Linked DNA regions of Homo sapiens: region 1 is linked to region 2. Evidence: promoter capture Hi-C in human tissues and cell types (Jung and others, 2019). All regions are on one chromosome and are shown on one strand. Each heading gives the region's core, a stretch centred on a gene start or on the middle of the fragment in contact. The rest is flanking DNA. Distances are from core to core; before and after follow the strand shown. Region 1 has its middle 160 kb from the start of ASCL4. Region 2 holds the start of FICD (FIC domain protein adenylyltransferase).

Region 1 (4,316 bases), core at 543-3,042, 580 kb after region 2:
TATGCAGCCTTGGGCGAGTAACTCCATGTCTTAGTTATCTATTGCCACATAACAAATTACTTCAAACTAAGTGGCTTAAAACAACACACAATTGTTATCTCACAGTTGCCATGAGTCAGAAGTCTAGGTGTGGTTTTGCTGGGTCTTCTTCTCAAGATCCCACAACACTGCATTGAAGTGTTAGCAGGCTCTCTTCTGAGCCCAGGGTCCCCTTCCAAGTCCATGTGTTTGCTGGAAGAATTCAGTTCCTGCAGTTTAAGACTGAGGTTCCCATTGTCTTGTCAGTTGTCAGCTGGGCCACTCTAGGTTGGTAGAGGGCGTCCACTGTTCCTTGTGAATGGGCCCTTCTCACAATGTGTTAACTTACTTAACACTAACTTGTTTAGGGTTCACCATGATCTTCTGAAGTAAATGCAATTATTATTCCTGTTTAGCAGGTGGGGAAACAGGTTTAACAAAGTGCTGTGATTGATATGAGGAAATCAATCTATCAAATGGCAAAGCCCAAATCAAAGTCAAATAGGTCTGGCTTCAAAGCATGCACACGTAATCACTGCAAGATGCTGCCTCGTGTTTGTCATGTCTTATTAAAACTTAATGGCTATTTTGTCTTTTTGTTTCAGAGTATATCTCATTCACACTGGGTATAGAAGTTCTTGGGAAAAAAGTCATTTCTTAGGCATGTGTGTGCCAAGTCCATAGCATAATCCCTGGCACATATGGGTAATTAATAAATATTTGCTAAATGGAGGGATGAACTGGGTGCATGCTGAATGTTTGGATGGATGGATGAATAGGGTGGGTGCCTGTGTAGGAAATGGTTGGTGGATGGTGAATGGATAGGATTGGGGCTAGGATGGGTGGTTAGTGGATAGATGGATGACATGGGGTGATAGATTGGGTAGGTGAGTAGTGAGGGAATGGATAGATGAATGTGCAATGGATGCATGGGTGGCTGTGAGGTTGGGTGGTGAGTAGTGAATGGGAAGATGGCAGATGGAGCAGGTGGAGGAGTGAATGGAATAAAGGTTTCATAGTTGATAGGTGGGTGGGTAAATGGATGGATAGGTGGGTATATGGGCTTGAAGGGGAATGAGGTAGATGGAAGAATGGATGGATGGAGGATGGGATGTGTAGTAGGTGAGAAACGAGGAAGGTGGTTGGGGGGAGGGATGAATGAGCAGCTAGATTGGTGGTGAATAGGGTTGGGCATGAGGTAGGTGACAGTGGAAACAGATAATAGCTTCTCTCGCATTTGAATAGCTTCCTGAAATCATCTCTACTTTTCTTCTGTAATCATCGTATATTGTACATATCACTTATCTACAAGAGTTAGGCTGACCCAAATTCACCATTGAATTGAGACATATAAATCTATATTTAGATTTAATAATTCACAAATCCCAGGATATTACAGGGTTTGGCAAACTCTTGTTTCTCCAGAATGGAGTGAAATGAATGGCTGCTTAATTGGTGGATGGCACCAGAAGAGGGACCACCAGCAGGGTGATCCAAAGAGAAATCTCCTTCCCCGTACAGCCCGGAGCCCTGGAAGGCTGAGAGATGCCTCAGTTTCTACCTGCCTGGAAAGAAGAATTTTGTTTTTCCAAGATCTAATGGAATTCCACTGACAGAAGAACTGTGCATAGCCTGCCAAATACCAGGGGTGGGTGGCTGAGTGCTGTGGCATCAGCTACAGCATTAGGTGCCACCCCATTCTAGAGTCAGTCTTACCCCTGACCTCACTTAGGAAGTGTATAGTAATGAATTTATTAAGCATTAACAAAGTACTATGCTAAGGGCATTCATGGATATCCCATTTAATTCTCAAAAGTTGCTCTAGGATCTGGTGCTAAAATGATCTCTGCTGGCTCAGGAATAAGGTCAGGTCCTCTGTTCAAGGTCACACAGCTGCTAAGAAGATAAGTTGACCTTTATAACTTAGATCTGATTTCAAAACTCTTTCTCTGCACTTTTGTGCTAAAGTGTTCCTGTCAAAGTCAAATTTTTTTGACTAGCAAAAAAATTGGAGTGCACAGGATGGAGCTGGGACTCCTGTGAATGATACCCTAGAACATATGGTTTCGCTAAAGATGTTGGGAGCCAACAGGAGGAAAAAGTAACGGGAACAGACAGAAGAAAATATTCCCCGAATCTCTCTCTCAGCCATGACAATTTTGGAAACACTTCCAAAATGTGGCTGATGGATTAAGAAGGGCAAAAATTCTGAAATAATTGGGTTCTTCAAGGAAGCCCTCTTGGCTAACTTCACTGAGCTTCACATCCCAAAGAATGTTCCTGGTGACCACGCAGAACAAGGGAAATCCAGGAGGCCAAGAAAGAGTTGGGAAGAAGATGCCCAAAGGGCCATAGATGGAGCCCCTGGGCAAAGGTCTTAGAACAGTTATTTGTTAATATGTGAGTCCAACATAACCCTCCTTCCCCCTTAATTGCACTGGATATGATATGATTTGGATCTGTGTCCCCACCCAAATCTCATGTCAAATTGTAATACCCAGTGTTGGAGGTGGGACCTAATGAGAGGTGACTGGATCATGAGGGCAGAGTTCTCATGAATGAGTTAGCACTATCTGCTCAATGCTATTCTCCTGATAGTGAGTGAGTGAGTGAGTTCTCATGAGATCTGGTTGTTTAAAAGTGTGTGGTACCTCCCCACTCTCCCTCTTGCTCCTGCTTTGGCAATGTAAGACATGCCTGCTTCCCCTTCACCTTCCACCATGATTATTTCCTGGAGCTGCCCCAGAAGCAGATGCCACCATGATTCCTGTACAGCCTATGTAACTGTGAGCCAATTAAATGATAATTTTTTTTATAAATTACCCAGTATCAGGTATTTCTTTACAGCAATGCAAGAATGGACTAATACAAGATAATTCCCGTTTGCCCTTCCACATCCACTCTCCATCCTTCCCTACCATGTGCTGTGCCCCAGGGAGCTGGTCTTCAGTGGTTCTCTAATTGACTCCCTTCCTCTCCACTTCTAGTTGAGTTCAGCCAATGGGAAGCACCAAGAGGAGACAGAAGGAGGGGAAGGGAGTGTGGATGAGCTGTTGACTTCCCCGCTTGAAGGCCACAGCTCCTCTGAGGCAACCCAATCCAGTAACTTCATCTCCCTGCACCCATTATAATCTGGGGGCAGGAGTTAGTTTTTACTGCATTACAACCTCAAAACCTCAGTGGCTACAGGAGCAAGCATTTATTTCTTTGCTTGAGGATTTGTAGGAGGTCTTTGGTGCTATTGGGTTCAGCAGATCTTGGTCAGGCTGCCAGCTGGGCTCAGATCTGCTCCATGGGTCTACTTATTCCAAGGCCATCAGATACCAAGAGCATGTTCTTCTCATGGCAAATGATAGAAGCACAAGAGGGCGAGCCAAGCCATGCAAGCATATTTCTAGCCTCTGCTCCAATCACTTCCTACTTTGTATTCTATTGACCCAGGCAAGTCATATGGTCAAGCTCACAACAAATGGGATGGGCAGGTTCATTCTTCCTATTCTACTGGGAGGTATTGCAATGGTTCGAAAAGAAAGTGCTGGAACAATACTCTTATTGACTCCACAGTGGCCATGGCTCCCCACTGGTGTATTCCTGGCATTCAGCATTCATCTTGTTTTTCCAGAGCCCCATCCACATATTTGTAAATAGATCATGCATGTATAATTTTAATGGTTGTTTTATTATTTAAATATGTTTTGGTGTCATTAACTTTTGTATTAAACTCTCCTCAAATTACCCAATTTAAGGGTGTTAAAAACATTAATTTATCATGCAATTGAGCCGATGTTAACAGAGAGCTTCCTCTGTGCCCTGTTTGGGATGGATGAGAATCAGATTGACAAAAATGATGCCCTCTTCTTGCTGAATTCACATCATGTTACACGCAGTGTGCTAATATAACTTCATATGCATCATCTAATCTAATTTAATTATAACAACCACCCTGGACAGACGTTCCTATTACTATTCCAATATAAAGAAACTGAAGCTCAAAATGGTGGAATGACTTACCCAAGTTTTACTCAGCTAGTAGGTAAGAGGCAGGATTTGCCCCCAGGTCCACCCTACTCTGCAGTCCTTTCCTCTTAACAAATGCATTTGACAGCCTCACATGCAGCAAAATAAGCACTTTGCAAACACAGTTTCATTTCACCTTCATCTGTGCAACAAGTTCGGTTATCTGCTCATCTTGCAGATTAGAAAAATCGAGTCGTGAAGAATTGAGACCAACTCCCTAGAGTAGAAAATTGTACAGCTGAAATAGAAATCCAGTTCTATCTGACTCCAAAACTTATTCC
Region 2 (4,622 bases), core at 644-3,143:
TCCGGTTTGCTCCTGAGCAGGTAGAGGCCTTTGAGCACAGCCAAGCACTGCTCCTCCACAGCCCCCAGCGGCAGCAGCAGGGCCAGCAGGGACCCCAGCACCATGCTCAGCAGCGTCACCCAGAGGAAGCGGCTCCAGACCGAGACCCATTTCGGTTCAGTCACCGCCATCACTGAAGCCATTGGTATGAGCATCATCTGGACTCAGGAGAGGGCCCTTTGCGCATGTCCACAGGCGGCTGAGAGAGAGCAGGATCTGCAAGGAGCCAAGAGTCGCAGGAGAAACAGACACGTTCAGGACATAGTGTGACTTCAGCTGGGAAGATGGGTTTGGAGACTTCTGCTCTTTTAGCTCACTAGAGAGATGGGGTGGGGGCAAGTCAAGGACTGGATCTCACTAGAGGAGGGGCCAGCCTAGAAGGACTGGTGCCACCTCCTGGGCAGTATGAATGTGAAAACACTGCTGTGGTCCAACAATTAATGAGCACTTGCCATAATCCAGGCCGTGTGCTAAGCACCAAATGCCTCACATGGGTCACCTCCTGCAATCTTCAACGACTTGAGCTGATGTTTTCACCCTTCTCCAGGTGAGGGAACTGAGGTTCAGAGAGGTGAAGTCCCTTGCCGAAAGTCTCGCCGGGAGCAAGTGACAGCCTTAGGACTTGAACTCAGGAACCCCACGGCTCTAAAGTGTCCCCCCTTCCCATATATCCCTGTGGCTTCTGACCACAAACACTGGATTTGTGGACATATGTCAAACATTTGGGACATAAATGACTGACAGACACCCAGGCAGATCAGCCACAGCAGTTCTGACGCCCAATCTTTGATAAGCACAATTGTTGGGTGGCCTCATTTATTGCCCTCACCCTGATATTCAGCCACAGCTCCCACAGTGCCCTTCCCCTCTCTGGCCTTCCATTTCTGGCCTGTCCAGAAGGGACCCCATCAAGAAGATGAGCAGTTCGAGCATCTCGAAAGGAACTCAGGCTGTGGGCCACAGTGCTTGGCCTCAGTGACAACATGGCTTGTATGTGCTTGGGGCTGGCAGTGGGAGTGGAGGTGGGGCCAGGCATGCAAACACTATGCTAACAATAAGCACTTATTAAGCAACTATGGTGTCCTAGGTGCTGAGCAGTGTACTGGCCACGCATTGCCTCGTTTCACCCTCATGCCACCCTATGAAGGAAGAGCTACCGCTAGCTCCATTTTACAGACAAGGGAAACCAAGACACAGAGAGCATAAGTTAAATTCCAGAAGGCCCACAGGAGGTAAACAGAGGCATCCGGAAGGAAACCCCAGGGCCTCTGAACCCGGTCCCCAGGTCTCGATTTCTACCTTATTACTAAGCAGGGCCTGTGCACCTGCTCTGGGCTGGTCCTGACCCGGGAATGACTGATGGATCACGGGGTTCTGAGTCTCATGGGGATCCTGGCCCATTGCCACAGAACATGTGAAATGGCTTGGGGTGCGCTTTAATAGGGGTGCGCCTGGAGTGCTGCGCGGGTCCAGGGGTCTGGGCGGGCTTCCCGAGGGGACAGGCTCCTGGGCGGGGCGGTACAGGAAAGGGGGCAGTTCGCCGGTGCCAGGGGTGTGTGCAGGGAAGGAGTGCGTTCTGGGAGGCGCGAATCTCTCCCCCACACTTCCCTAGAAAGGGAGAACTGAGGCCCGGAGAGGGGAGGGGACCGGTCTGAGTCCCCTCCAAGACTGCAGAGCCTCCCTTCCCGAACCCCGCCCAGGGCTCGCGGCCCCGTCGCACCCTTCCCGGCTTCATCCTCTCGAGCCCCTAGGGCTTTTCCCCTTCTCACCGCGCGCAGCTGTCAGAACCCCAACCGCCTTCCCCGCGCTCCCAGCTCCGGGCCGCCGGCTCCCGGGTCCTCCTTCTCCGCCGGCCTCTGGCCCCGCCCCCGGCGACTTGCCATTGAACCGCCCGCAGCCCTCGTCGCGGCGGATTGGCTTTCCCCACTTGTCCTTCCCTCGCATTTCCGGGTTCCCGCGTCCGCGTCGGCTTCCCCGGGAAAGACGCGCCGTGGGCCACTCCCATTGGTTGTTGCTTGCGTTTGTCTCGTTCACGTAGCAGCCAATAAGCAGCGGGAGGGGCGGGGCCTAGGCCACAGGCAGGAGGAGCAGGTGCTGGAAACCCGATGGGCGTGCGGATTTGGGGCACACTAGGTGGCGGGCCCGGAAACTGGAAGTTCCACGGCGGTCTTTTCCTCGGGTCTCTTCGTCCCGGAGCCGCTGTCGTGTGCCTCATTTTTCCCGGTTGTGAAATGAAGATGCTGATGCTTTTCACCCCTTCACCCGGTTAGCCTGCTTGACTGCGCAGCCCCTGTTCTTAGCCTCCACCCCATGCTGCTGAGTTTGCCGCCTTCTTCTTCTTTACTCTTTTCCTCTCTGTGTCTTTTCCTCCCTGACTTAAACAACTTTTTTTTTTCTTATAAAATACAGGGTCTCGTTGTGTCGCCCAGGCTGGAGTGCGGTGGAGCAATTGCAGCTCACTGCAGCCTCCACCTCCTGGGCTCAAGCAATCCTCCCATCTCAGCCTCCCGAGTAGCTGGGACTACAGGTGCATGCCACCATGCCCGGCGAATTTTCTTTTCTTTTCTTTTCTTTCTTTCTTTCTTTTTTTTTCTCTCTCTCTGTCTTGCTTTCTTTCTTTTTTTTTGAGACGGAATCGCACTCTGTTGCCCAGGCTGGAGGGAAGTGGCACGATCTTGGCCCACTGCAACCTCCGCCTCCCAGGTTGAAGCGATTCTCCTGCCTCAGCCTCCCGAGTAGCTGGGATTACAGGCGCGCATCACCACGCCCGCCTAATTTGTGTATTTTTAGTAGAGATGGGGTTTCACCACGTTGGCCAGGCTGGTCTCGAACTCCTGACCTCAGAAGATTCGCCTGCCTCGGCCTCCCAAAGTGCTGGGATTACAGGCGTGAGCCATCGCGCCCGACCTATTTCTGATTTTTTATTTTCTTTAGAGACCGGGTCTCACTATGTCGCCCGGGCTGGTCTCGAACTCTTGACCTTAAGCTCTCCCTCCATCTCGGCTTCCCAAAGCGCTAAGATTACAGGCGCAAGCCACCCCCTCGGTTCTCCCTGACTTTTTAATTTGTATCCTCTCCAGAAGGACCTGGCTAGTTCTTTTGGCTTCCCAGAGAGAAATTTTTTCCTTGAAGCAGAGAATGGAAACCTCCATCTTAATCCACAAATACTGAAATTAAACATCTAGGGAGGTGCCCCAGAAACGCTAAGCATTTAGAAGTTAGCAGTTCAGATTCTGGGGAGTCAAAGAGACCTGAGCTCAAATTCAGACTTTGCCATTTACTCTCCGTGTCACCTTGGGCACGTTACTCCTAGCCTCACTTTCCCCACTTGTAAAATGGGGACAAACAGCCTACCTTGCTTTTGGCATCCAGTTCAGGATTTGCAGAAGGCTTGATGCTTCAAGATCTGACCTCCTCTGTGACGTGTATTGCTCTTGGAGGCAGGGCTAGGTGGTGGTTGTGGGGTGTCACTGTTGGGAGTCACACAGACCTGGGTTCAAATCCCAGTTCTGCCCCTTGCAAACTGAATCACATTCAGCAAGTGACTTGATCTTGTTGATCATCTGTCTAGGCTTTTCTGTAAACTGTGCACAGTGTGATGATATTACCACTTCACAAGGTTTTATGTGAGGGTGAAATGAGATTCTATACATCTGGCACAGAGCAAACTATCTATCTATCTATCTATCTATCTATCTATCTATCTATCTATCACCTATCTATCTTTTTTGAAATAGGATCTCACTCTGTTGCCCAGGCTGGAGTGCAGTGGCATGATCTTGGCTCACTGCAACCTCCATGTCCTGGGTTTAAGTGATCCTCCCATCTCAGCTTCCCTAGTAGCTGGGACTACAGGCACACACAGGCTAATTGTTTTTTTGTTTGTTTGTTTGTTTTTGAGACAGAGTCTTGCTCTGTCACCCAGGCTGGAGTGCAGTGGTGTGATCTTGGCTCACTGCAATCTCTACCTTCTGGGTTCAAGCGATTCTCCTGCGTCAGCCTCCTGAGTAGCTGGGATTACAGGCATGTGCCACTGCACCCGGCTAATTTTTTTGTATTTTTAATAGACACGGGGTTTCATTCTGTTGGCCAGGCTGGTCTTCAACTCCTGACCTCAAGTGGTCCACCTGCCTTGGCCTCCCAAAGTGCTGGGATTACAGGCTTGAGCCACCGCGCCTGGCCAGAAGATCCATAGTTTTTAAGGAACAAAATCAGGGTGGTGATTATTTTGGTGGCTTCTCGTTTTTAATCTTTTCAACCAAGGTCATAAACATTTTTCTCTTGGAGTCCTCTGAATTGCACTTCCTGATGGCCCAAGTAGTAATGTCATTGTAAAAACCTTCCCCAGAGGAGGGCCTGGTAGGCAGCCAGCTTATGGGTGACAGTATGTTAGAAAACAGTGAAGCTCTGGGGTCAGACAGATGTGCGTTGAAATGCAAGGCCCACCGCTTGCTGGCTGGGTGACCTTGAACAAGTCACTTATCCTCACTGAGCTGGGTATTAAGGGACTAGTGGACCCCTGTCCACACCCAGGTATAAAGCAATGTAGTCCTCTGCTTCTAAAGGCACCCTCCTCTCTTTGT

Evidence for each region. The method cuts DNA at HindIII sites, captures the fragments that hold promoters and counts their contacts. A contact is called where the count stands out against the background at its distance.
Region 1: a fragment that was not itself captured here is called in contact with the fragment with the promoter of FICD in region 2 in 1 of the 25 tissues and cell types used here (lymphoblastoid cells).

Annotation. Positions count from the first base shown.
Region 1 is chr12:107,932,151-107,936,466 of GRCh38, reverse strand. No RefSeq gene overlaps it. Among named protein-coding and RNA genes, the nearest start is that of ASCL4, 160 kb to the right of the region's middle. The HindIII fragment of the contact is 5,919 bases long and covers 1-4,316 here.
Region 2 is chr12:108,512,548-108,517,169 of GRCh38, reverse strand. It overlaps FICD (FIC domain protein adenylyltransferase), which reads right to left and starts at 1,893. Exons shown (of 3, transcript NM_007076.3): 1 at 1,809-1,893; 2 at 1-255. The coding sequence starts at 197. RefSeq lists enhancers at 171-270, 1-459, 2,362-2,421 and a silencer at 3,918-4,103. The HindIII fragment of the contact is 17,239 bases long and covers 1-4,622 here.